Linked DNA regions of Homo sapiens: region 1 is linked to region 2. Evidence: promoter capture Hi-C in human tissues and cell types (Jung and others, 2019). All regions are on one chromosome and are shown on one strand. The core of a region is centred on a gene start or on the middle of the fragment in contact, and the rest is flanking DNA. Distances in the headings are between cores, read along the strand shown.

The links. The method cuts DNA at HindIII sites, captures the fragments that hold promoters and counts their contacts. A contact is called where the count stands out against the background at its distance.
Region 1: a fragment that was not itself captured here is called in contact with the fragment with the promoter of CST1 in region 2 in 1 of the 25 tissues and cell types used here (bladder).

Annotation. Positions count from the first base shown.
Region 1 is chr20:23,696,196-23,701,946 of GRCh38, reverse strand. No RefSeq gene overlaps it. Among named protein-coding and RNA genes, the nearest start is that of CST4, 10 kb to the right of the region's middle. The HindIII fragment of the contact is 3,930 bases long and covers 1-3,512 here.
Region 2 is chr20:23,746,323-23,752,517 of GRCh38, reverse strand. CST1 (cystatin SN) reads left to right here and starts at 1,583. Exons shown (of 3, transcript NM_001898.3): 1 at 1,583-1,879; 2 at 3,389-3,502; 3 at 4,619-4,956. The coding sequence starts at 1,652. The coding sequence ends at 4,702. RefSeq lists an enhancer at 1-343. The HindIII fragment of the contact is 8,409 bases long and covers 1-4,682 here.

The sequences.
Region 1 (5,751 bases), core at 298-2,797, 51 kb after region 2:
CAATGTATGCTTTGAATTCTTTATCTGTCATTTTTGAGTTTTCATTTTGGTTAGGAACCATTCTGGAGAGATAGTACAATCTTTTGATGGTGTCACAACATTCAGATGTTTCATGGTTCCAGGATTCTTGTGCTGTTTTTTTCTCATCTGGACATATTGGCACTTCCAATTTTTGTAATTATTTTCATACAGACAGATTTTTTTTTCTTTCTTTCCCTACGTCATTGTTTTTCTTTCCATTTCAACCCCTCTCCAGGGGGTGTGATTATAGGGTTTTTGGCTTTGCTTCTATAACCCTATAGGGCAGGCATAACTACAGGTGCTCCAATAGCAGGTACAAGCACCAGCATTGAGTGGGAGTCCAGTGGGCATCAATTGAGCACCCAGAGATGTGCCTAGGCATGGATATGAGAAACCTCCTTGGACTCAGCTTCTCTGCAGGAGGTGGAATGCCTAAATTCCTAATCCAGGGGAGTGCGTGCTCCAGATCCCCAGATATCTGCCTTGGCATGGAGTGCAGCAGGTGCTGCTACACCGCAATCTCTGCACAGGAATGTTGGGGCAGCTCAGGCTATTGTTCCAAGTGAGCAGCTGCTCTAAATATCTGGAGGTCTACCTGGGCATGGAGCAGAGAGGGTCCTGCTTCACCACTGTCTCTGTACAGGAAGGGTAAGGCAGCAAAGGCTGCTGATTTAGGCACACAGGTGCTCTGAATGCCTGGAGATCTACCTGGGTGTGGAGTACAGAGGGCCCTGCTGCACCACAGTCTATACATAGGAAGGGTGGGGCTGCTTAGGCTGATGATCCGAGGGAGCAGTTGCTCTGAATGCCAAGAGATCAGCCCACGTGTGGGGCAGAGAGGATCCAGCCACTCCACAATCTCAGGGAATAAGTCTGGCGCATCCAGCACTCATACACAGAGACCAGTTCCAGGTACCAAGATGACCTTGACTGCAAGTGTCATCACCCAGGAGAAACCATGGCTGCAGCAGACCTCCTCTGGCTCTAGACTTGCAACAAGGGTGAGCACAATTCCAACACCTATTATTAGGGCATTTTTCGCAGTCACTGCTCAGTTCTAATATGGAGGCCCCTACCCCATTCTAGCATAAGCACTCCCATATGGCCCAAGACTAAAATGAGTTTGTGGGCAAGCTGCTGGGTCACCTAAGAATGACTGACTTATGAGCCCAGATTAAAAATAGCATACTGCCCTTAGTCCTAGGTCTAACAAAATGGCAGCAGCTTTTTCCAGTGTCTTTCCTTCTCAGAGTGTCCAAGCATCTCCCCAAGTTAGCTCTAGGGCTTGGGAGAAACAAAGTGCTCTCCCTTGGCCTGGTTCCATGGAATCCCCAGTGGAAGGGTACATCACAGAGGAAGACTCTCTGCCCCCTCACATTCTGGGATATCACTCACTTTTATGAGGAACACATTGTCTTAGGGGCTATTTGCCTGCATTCTCCTCCCCAGAATCTGAGGTGTCCTTCAGGATTCCAGTGGATTCCCACTCGCCTTTTTGAGTTAAAACTCACAGAGCTGATCACTAGGTACTATTTTGCTATTTCCAAGTGTTTGAGGCACACCGAAAGCTTCTAATCTACCACTGGGGGAAAAAAATGCACAATGTTTATCAGAATCCCTGACCTCTGTCCACTAAATGCCGTAGCACATCCTCCCAAGCAGCAACGACCAAAAATGTCCTAGACATTACCAGTGTGCCCTGGGAAGCAAAATTGCCCCAGGTGAATAACTACTGACAGAGGCACCATGGCCTCCCTGTAGCAATGAATGAGCACAGGCACCACTCGGCATTGCTTTCTGAACTCACCACAGATTTCAGCCAGTAATTCTAGAGTTGGATGAAGGAAAGTATAAAATAGATCTAGAACTTCTTGTTATTAATACATGAGAAGGTAAGGATAGGCTCCAATAATAATGGAAATCTGTCAAGAGAACAGAAGAAGCTGCTTAAAGGAGCTCTTGGTAGCCAATTGTGAGATAATCTACACACTGGAATAATAGTGGTAACAGATTATAACTTCTTGAATAAAATAAGAAACCATGAGTTAGATCTGTCGAGAGACAGAAGCTAGGTAGGTAGGTATGTAGATAAACAGACAGATGAGAAAAGCAAGTTTTCCTTACAGTGGAATGAATGCCATTAATAAATACAGAAGAAATGATGAAGTTAGAAAAAAATAGTCACAATAATCATAATAACAACTGATTTAGGAAAGAATTATCATTATATGCTAATGGTAGAAAGTAAAAGTTTAATAAGAAGTAGAACATAAAACTATTTTCTAAGTATTGCTCTGTGAAATACTTATTAATTACACAAACAAAAAAAAGTAACTTAAGAGTGGAGAAACCTGGAAGATACTATCTATATCTAGAGATTAATGTTAACATGTATCAGCAATTGGACAATGGTATCCTGGCCTCCTGGAATGATGATATACTGAGGGACACAATGCCACTTCTATAATTTTCATCTGAAAAAAATGCATCACCTGAATCTAATCCACTGACGACCCCAACAGAAAACATTCTTCAAAGTAGCCAGTTATCTTCAAAAATGACAGGATAACAAAGACAAGAAAGAATGAAAAGCGTTTCCAGATTAAAGGAGACTAAGGAAGCTTGGCAAACAAACACAATTGATAAACTGTCTGAACAATAGACTAGATAAAAGGCTGTATCCACACAAGCATCATGATTTTGCTCATTGCACTGAGGTTGTGTTAGAGAATGTCCTTGTCCTTAGGACACACACATGAAAGTATCTGAGGACAAAAGAGGTCATGTCTGCAATTTGCACTCAAATGACTCAGAAAAACCTATAATAGCTTGTACATATAGAAAGAGAAGGAAAAAGCACGAGACAAAATGTTAAGAGTGGGAGAATCTGAGTGTATACAGGAGCTCTTTATATTACTCTTCCCACTTTTTGTAAGTTTGAAATCACTACAAAATAAAAGGTGCAAAAAATAAAAACTCAAAATACAGCAAAGTTCTGCATCGGGATCACCTGAGATACACAGGCCAGTGTTGTCAGCTAGTTGGGAAGTCATGGAAACACCTCCTAACTTCTCAGCCTAGCATACATGTGTAGGGGAAATGGCCAAACCATCACGTGATGAAGCTGCAGGCTGGCTGGTTACTAAGAACACGCTTCACCAGCATCCACACTCTGTACTGTTCCTTAGAGCAGAGAGAGAGTGTGAGGCAGAAGGGACTGGGGCACTGGAGAGGATGCAGGGACAGAGGCTGAGGAGGAAGCGCCCTCCACTTCCCTCAGATGTTGTCACCTCACAAGAGATGGCCACTTTCCCCACCTCATCCTACCTGCACCTCCCTTTGCAGTGCAGGGGGTCACTGTTGTTTCCCAGACCCCTTCTTCTATTTCATCTTGAGTTTTCATCATAAAACCCCATCCTGCACATTGCACACCTTCGCAATTATTTGGCTATGATTCTGATACCATGTGAACCACACTGGGTGGGAGTAGACGTGAATTCTCTATTAGGAAGAACTCAACAATTAATATATAACAAAATGTAGGCCAAAAAAGGCTCTACCAGGCCATACCTTTTGAGCAGCCTGTTTTTATAGAGAATAAACATGGGCCTTTGGAAAGGAGCTTTCCTCATATGGAGGATCCCTTCTAGGGAGCCAGCACTTCCAAGATACCGCAGGTGGAACTCAGGAGACTGAAAAAAATCACCCTTGTTAGCAAAAGTTTAGTCAGCCACTGCCAGCATGAAAGCCACAGGCTTCCTGGAAGTGTGTGCCATGTCACAGCACAGAGCAGAGGGGTTTTCCTAGATTCAAGGGGGTGTGCCAGGATTGATGGACAGCTGTCTCCCTTGCTGGAACAAAACTATACATGCATGCCCCCTCTGCCATGTGGCTAGCAGCAACTCTCTCCAGAAAATGCAGCATAAACCCCCATTGCCTTTGTGCATGGTCATGGGTCTTGCTTGGGTCTTAACAGATGTGACAAGGACAGAGACCTTAACCCTGCAGATGCGAGAGGTGGGTCCTCCTGCTCCCCTCCTCACCATCATGAAGAAAACCTGACCCAAGCAGACACTGCCCCTTAGCATGGGCCCCGGGATGAAGACACAAGGCAAGCCAGACCAGATCTGCTAAGCCCCAGCCCATCTGCAGGCTCCAGAGCGTGACAGGAACAGTTTCTTGCTTTTAGTCCCTAAGATGTTAAGGGTTTTTCCTATGGAAAAGAAACTGACTCATACATGGTTTATTCCATTTTCCGCTGTATGCCTTCTCCACTCTTTTCCCAAATGAACTCTTTACTGCCTCCATGACAACCTACATCCCATAAGTAATTGAGCTGCTGGTTGTAAAGAAACAGAAGCTTTAAAAGTTTCCTTTTGGCAAATCCTAAAAGCAGCCCATATATCAGAGATCCAGGACAGCACTTAACTGTTCCCACATATGAAGAAGCAATCCAGGAGGTCTGTGGGGCACAGCATGCTGGTCCTCCGCACTGCCCAGGTCCTGGCTCCCGACTGTAATTCAAGACAGCACCTCAGTGAGAAAAGGGGAGGATCCCAGTTCCCCCTGTCAAACAGCACCCTAACCCTAAAGTGACATGCTGAAGAGAGGCAAAGGAGAATGCAAACCACCACTGAATGGCTGTTCCATTAGAGAGCAAAACAGAATAATCACAGAGGCTGGAATCCACTTTTAGCTTTTATAATCTGATGCACACGACAAACAACACAAGTAGGACTGGGGACTCCCAGGTTGGCTGCCCTATTTCTTTATGATTATTTCTCAGATATTTAGAACTTTCTCTCTCTTTTTTTATACTTTAAGTTGTAGAGTACATGTACACAACGTGCAGGTTTGTTACATATGTATACATGTGCCATGCAGGTTTGCTGCACCCATTAACTCATCGTTTACATTAGGTATTTCTTCTAATGCTGTCCCTCCCCCATACCCCCACCCCAGGACAGGACCCAGTGTGTGATGTTCCCCACCCTGTGTCCTAGTGTTCTCATTGTTCAATTGGCTCTCTGTTGGTCTGTTATTGGTGCATAGAAATTCTTGTGATTTTTGCACATGGATTTTGTATCCTGAGACTTTGCTGAAGTTGCTTCTCACCTTAAGGAGATTTTGGGTTGAGTCGATGGGGTTTTCTAAATATACAATCATGCCATCTGCAAACAGGGACAATTTGACCTCCTCTTTTCCTAATTGAATACCCTTTCTTTCTTTCTCTTGCCTGATTGCCCTAGCCAGAACTTCCAACACTATGTTGAATAGGAGTGGTGAGAGAGGGCATCCTTGTCTTGTGCCAGTTTTCAAAGGGAATGCTTCCAGTTTTTGCCCATTCAGTATGATATTGGCTGTGGGTTTGTCATAAATAGCTCTTATTATTTTGAGATACGTTCCATCAATACTTACTTTATTGAGACTTTTTAGCATGAAGGGCTGTTGAATTTTGTCAAAGGCCTTTTCTGCATCTATTGAGATAATCATGTGGTTTTTGTCTTTTGGTCTGATTATGTGTTGGATTACATTTATAGATTTGTGTATGTTGAACCAGCCTTGCATCCCAGGGATGAAGCGAACTTGATCTTGGAGGATAAGCTTTTTGATGTGCTGCTGTATTCAGTTTGCCAGTATTTTATTGAGGAGTTTTGCAGCGATGTTCATCAGGGATATTGGTCTAAAATTCTCTTTTTGTGTGTGTGCCTCTACCAGGCTTTGGTATCA
Region 2 (6,195 bases), core at 334-2,833:
GGCAGATGTCACAGGTCTGGATAAAGTGGTAACACAAGTGTATGCATTTATGAAACACCCCAGATTGAGCACATACTATTAGGCATTTTATTGTATGCAAATTCTACCTCATTTAAGGCAATTTTTAAAATATCAGGTGAGTCTTCCAAGCAGTGAACAGAGGAAAGGAGCCTGAAGCATGGCTGCCTAGGACAGAAGCAAGAGAGACCTGTGGGTTCCCACATTCATCCCGTGGCTGCTGCTCCCTTTCCTGACACCCCCACTGCCTCACAGGGGTCTCCGTGCACCTTCCACCGGGCCCCACCCACATTTACTGTGAGACTCCAGGTCGTTCCCTTCCCTCCTCATACCCCCTCCAGGAGCTTCCACTTTCTGGAGCAGGCATGTCCCAACCCCACCTCAGGGCCTTTGCACTGGCTGTTCCCCACTGCCTGGGGCTTCTCAACCTCTCCAGTCTCATAGAGACCACCCTGACCAGGGTCCAGTGGTCTCTCTCTAGCCCCTGTTCTATTTCACTTCCAAAAGAGTGAGCATAACTCCCTGACCCTAATTTTTGATCGTAACCTACCATCCCCTACACACATTGTGTAGGAATGGACTATGGAGTTCCATAGAACCAGCCACATGTGCCACAGGATACTTGAAATGGGGCCAGTCCAAAATTACTTCTGGTCTAAGTGTTAAAAATACACAGGGAATTTCAAAGATTTACAAAACCAAAAAAAAAAAAAACAAAAAAAAAAAAAACATAAACGATCTCATTAATAATTGTTCCCATTAGCTGAAATCACATTGTGGCTATATAAGGTTAAATAAATATTTTAAACATTACTTTCACCCATTTATTCTCATCTTTTAAAATGCATCTACTAGAAATTTTCAATTGCTCGTGAGTTCGTGTCACATGTCTGTTGGGCAGCAGCTCTGCAATGTCACCTCTATGGCTCATCATCCAGGTTCCGTCTTCAAGCCCTAGACCTCCTGGCACGGGGAGTAGCTGGTGATAGGTTTGCTTATTGAATAATGAATTATGAAAAGAGAATCCAGTGACCTTTTCCAAAAAGGTTAATTCCCTTAAATTTGGCAAAGAAATTCTCCACATTAGGGTATGGACAGGGTCTTCTGGAACTTTCTGAAATAATCTCCCTGTTCCAGAGATTCAGAGACTGTGACCAAGTGCTCCTGGATGCCCCTGATATCTGAAGACCCTGGGAGGCCAAGCCCTGTATTTTTCCCCTTTCTGAGCAAACAGGAAGTCACATAGCTTTCACAGTCAAAGGACCAGTGTCACCTCTGTGGAGACCTGGGTGACTCAAGCTTGGGAGCACTGGGGAAGAGAGGCATGGCTCGGGGAGGCTGCAGTGAGGACTGGAGTGGGGAGGAGGGGGAGATGGAGGAGGAGGCCTGGGAGGGGCAGGGGGAACTTAGGCAGGGAGGGAGCTTGTAGTAGCGGGGGAGTGAAAAGAGAGATGGAGAAAGAGGGGATGGGAAGAAAGAGGAGGAGGAGTCAGGGGTGGGGCATGGAGGTGGGTGGGGCTGGGCTGCCAAAGCAGGATAAATGCACACCTGCCTGCTGGTCTGGGCTCCCTGCCTCGGGCTCTCACCCTCCTCTCCTGCAGCTCCAGCTTTGTGCTCTGCCTCTGAGGAGACCATGGCCCAGTATCTGAGTACCCTGCTGCTCCTGCTGGCCACCCTAGCTGTGGCCCTGGCCTGGAGCCCCAAGGAGGAGGATAGGATAATCCCGGGTGGCATCTATAACGCAGACCTCAATGATGAGTGGGTACAGCGTGCCCTTCACTTCGCCATCAGCGAGTATAACAAGGCCACCAAAGATGACTACTACAGACGTCCGCTGCGGGTACTAAGAGCCAGGCAACAGGTAGGTGCTCCCTCCACCCCAGGGGTCCTGGGTCCCAGCCTGGTTTGTTCCCCAACCCCCAAGAGCATTCCCAGCAAATCAACACTGATACATTCATGATCTAATGCTCAGATTCATTCAGCTTTCCCTGGCTCTCCGCTGATGCCCTTCATGCCTAAGCACGCTCCCCGGCCGTGCACAAACTCAGCTTCCTTTAACCTGCAGCAGCCACTGTGTCTGTACCATGACTGTGGCATTTCCCAGGGTCCAGCAGGTGTGGATGGAGACTGTGCTTACTCTGGGTGGGCTTGATGCTGCTCAGGATGAGATCCAGGCCATGAGGTTCATACTCCTCCCTGAGTCCTCTCTGCAGGGGCCACACAGGAACCTGGCTCACTGTTCTGCAGAGCCCTGCTTCCCCAAGTCACGCCCCTGGGCACAGCCCCTTATGGCTAGCGGCCTTCACCCTCAGGCCGGCTGACAAACCCCTACAGCCCAGGGCGCTGAGTCCCTGCTGGGGTGGAGCATGCCTGACCCTGCCTCTACCAGCTGATGCAGTTAGACCTCAGCCAGATGAGGACAGTGGTCACCCAGCAGAGCAGAGGAGGGGTCAGGTCGGGAGGGAGCTTCAGCAGGGCAACTGGGCCCAGCTTGACCTGCATCCCATGGCACAGCAGCAAATAGTGACACAGTCTTTAGAGCTCCTCCACCTTCTCCTGGAAATTCAAAGGAATCCCCACCAGCCCCGTTTCTCCTCTTGCAGCTGTCAGCTGGGGCTCTCTCCCTGCATACGAGATACACTCCCTGGTGCCGTGGTCCCCGCTGGCCTGCATCTCCCTTTCAAGCATGACAGTAACTTGGAGTGAAGCACAGGGCATTGCAGACCATCAGGCCCAGAAGCCTATTTTAGACATGGGTAAACTGACACTCGAGGGATCTCAGCAGTTCCTCCTGGTTCCAGAGAGTCCCTCATCCCAGGTTTCTCCACAGCTCTGCCACATTGTGTCTGGGAAAGGCCCTATGCAGGGAAAGGGTTCAATTCTAATCTGCAACTGTAAGACACGCAGGTGTGCTGCTGACTTGAGAAATGTATCTTGAATCTCACACTTGAAATGGTGGCATCCGGGCGGCCCCATTGATCCAAAATATCTGTGTGTGTGAAGCATCTCATTTCCTACTCTGAGTGAAGTAATAAATCTATGTTAAATGGAGGGAATAAGATTTTCAGAAGTTAGGTGAAATTTTGTCATCAGACAGACTTCCTAGAAAAGAGTCAGTGTTCCCTCGCCCCTGAGCCACAGACAGCAGAATTCAATGAATCCTTTTACCCAGCACAGAGAAAGCAATGTTTAAGAGCGGGTATGAGGCTCAGCACCCTGCCAGTTGACAGGAAGAGGGGGCTTGTGTGCCTTGTGTTGACATGTGGGCAGCTCACGAAGCCCCCAAGCAAGTCCAGTGACTCAGCCACAGTGAAGTGCCTGTGAGTGCATGAACTGATGGGGGCGCTGTCCTGTTTTCTCCTGTGTGCAGACCGTTGGGGGGGTGAATTACTTCTTCGACGTAGAGGTGGGCCGCACCATATGTACCAAGTCCCAGCCCAACTTGGACACCTGTGCCTTCCATGAACAGCCAGAACTGCAGAAGGTACGTTCCTGATGCAGGTCCCGGGCCAGTCATGCACTGCAGAGGGGTGCGTATGTGTCAGCCTCTGCCCTACACATGTTTGGAGGGTGTGTGTGTGCAGGTGGGTATGTGGGGAGCCGTGTATGCATGGATGTGTACGTGTTCATGTACTTATGGGGGGGTGTGCATGTAGGTGTGCATGTGGAAAGGTGCACGTGTGTACACACCTGTGCCAGTGTGTGCAGGGAGGTGGATGGGAGCATGTGTGCCTGTGCATGGATGTGTGGGGGGTGTATGGGGCTTTGTACATAGATCCATGGGGATGAGGGGTCCAAGTGAGTTTACGTAGTTGTCCATGTATGTGCAGATGGGGTGGTGAGGGAGGAGGGTGATGTGTTTGATTTGCTAGGAAGGCTTTAGGTTGGGAATGGTTACTATAAGGTCAATTCTGCCTGCTTTGGAGTGTTGCCTGTTGGACAGGAAGAAGCAGCTGTGCGGCTGTGTGCTGGGCAGGGAGAAGGGGCTCTGTCTAATCCCAGCCTCAGGCACCTGCATGCAGCCACAGCCACAGTGATCAGATTAGTGGGACCTAGAGGCCTGTTAGCTGGGAAGCCCTGGACCTGCCCGGCTCACCCAACACCAGCCTCTCCAAGGACCTGCTGGTTCTTGTGAGGTCTCCACTCAGGGGAGAGCCACACTCCCCTTGTTGCCCTTGCCCCATGCCCCAGCTCTTTGAGGGGGAGTTGCCCTGCCCTGGGTTCTTCCCTCTGGCCCCTCTTAGTGCTGGCCTGGGTGCTGGAGGTGGAAGGAGCTGGGGGAACTGAGCTGCCTCCCCATGCCCTGCACCCTTGGGGCTCCCGAGGCCTTGCCCAGGCTACTCCTCACAGGGCTGTGCTGGGACAGGACACTGCAGGCTGGGGTGGGGTCCCAATGCCACCTGGTGACTTGGAGCCTTGGGAGGGGCAATGGAACAGTCACTATTCATTCTAGTTCAGCACTCTGGGACTCAGTAGGGGTGGGTGAGGGCCCAGTGTCTCACCTCCATCCTCCTCACCCAGGCTCTGACATCTCATGCCTGGGCATCTTCCCCTTTAACTGTAACCCACACTGATTGGCCCTCTCTCTTCCCTTTCACAGAAACAGTTGTGCTCTTTCGAGATCTACGAAGTTCCCTGGGAGAACAGAAGGTCCCTGGTGAAATCCAGGTGTCAAGAATCCTAGGGATCTGTGCCAGGCCATTCGCACCAGCCACCACCCACTCCCACCCCCTGTAGTGCTCCCACCCCTGGACTGGTGGCCCCCACCCTGCGGGAGGCCTCCCCATGTGCCTGCGCCAAGAGACAGACAGAGAAGGCTGCAGGAGTCCTTTGTTGCTCAGCAGGGCGCTCTGCCCTCCCTCCTTCCTTCTTGCTTCTAATAGCCCTGGTACATGGTACACACCCCCCCACCTCCTGCAATTAAACAGTAGCATCGCCTCCCTCTGAGTTCTTGGCTGTCTGGGGATGTGCACGCAGGCGGGGTTTCTGCAGTTCCTTTATGAAGCCTCCTTGTCCTGCTGGTGTGGAGATCACAGGAGTACCTGGGAGCTGACGCAGCCACAGCAAGGCCATCAGGGGAGCTGCTGCCACTTTCAGAGACCTGAGCTTCAGAACAGGGAGAGAGCAGCCAGGGACTGGGAACCCAGGCCTTCAGCTGCAGCAGCCCCTGGTGAGGGGGTCAGGGAGAGGAGGGGGCCCAGGCAGCTGCCCCAGAAGCTAGGCTGCTGTTTTGGTCTGAGCTGCTGGTCAGACCACGAGGAGGGGGCTGGCTGTGTCCACAGGCAGGGGCCAGGCCTCAGTGGAGCTCGCCAGGCCATAGAGTCCATCTGTGCTTGCAGAGTGGAGCAGACTCCAGGGACTGAGCTGCTCTCATCAAATCCCCTAGACACTAAATAGACAGCGATCAACGTGTAGTTCTTTCCACAGGAGACTTTAGGCACCTACATGGAAACAAAGTCCAAAAGTGTGTGTGTGTGTGTGTGTGTGTGTGTGTGTGTATAACTTATTGGGAAAAATGCCACCCAGACCAAAGACAGGCAAGATCACCCAGAGAAAGCAACGCCTGCTCTCATCCATCCTGGGAGGGTGTGCCCCAGGCTGGGAGGTTGTCTCCTATGCTAGGAAGCTGTGCCCTAGAAAAGTTTTACACGTTCACACCCAGCCGCCCTTTCTCTGGACTTGAATTTAAAATGAGCACTCAGGTCAGCCTTCTTGGCAGGGATGGAGAAGCTAAAACACAAATGAAAGTGACATGCAGTGGACACTCGATTTTTTCACAAAGGATGTTTTAATTAATAAATAACATCACCTAAGTGTCAAAACCATTCTGTAGAATAGTGGGTAGTTGCGCTCTAAAGAAGAGGCTACAGTCCTAAGACAACGCCCACCCTGCACGGCCCTTCCCTTTGCCATTTCAGGGCAGGGGGTGCAGCCCTCAGGGCAGGTGCCTCTGGGGAAGGGCTCTCAACTATCTTCCATGCCTAGATCTGCGTTGACCAAGAGTGGCTGCCATGAACACCGAGGGGAAAATGACAAAGGGGAAACTGTTGAAACAGCCCTGAGGCCAGCACCCCATGTGCCGCACATAGAAAGCCAGGAGGAGTATGGTCTGGCAGGGAGAGTGGGGAGCACCTGTTTCATTTCCTCTCCACCCCTATGGGATGTAACCAAGGTTTT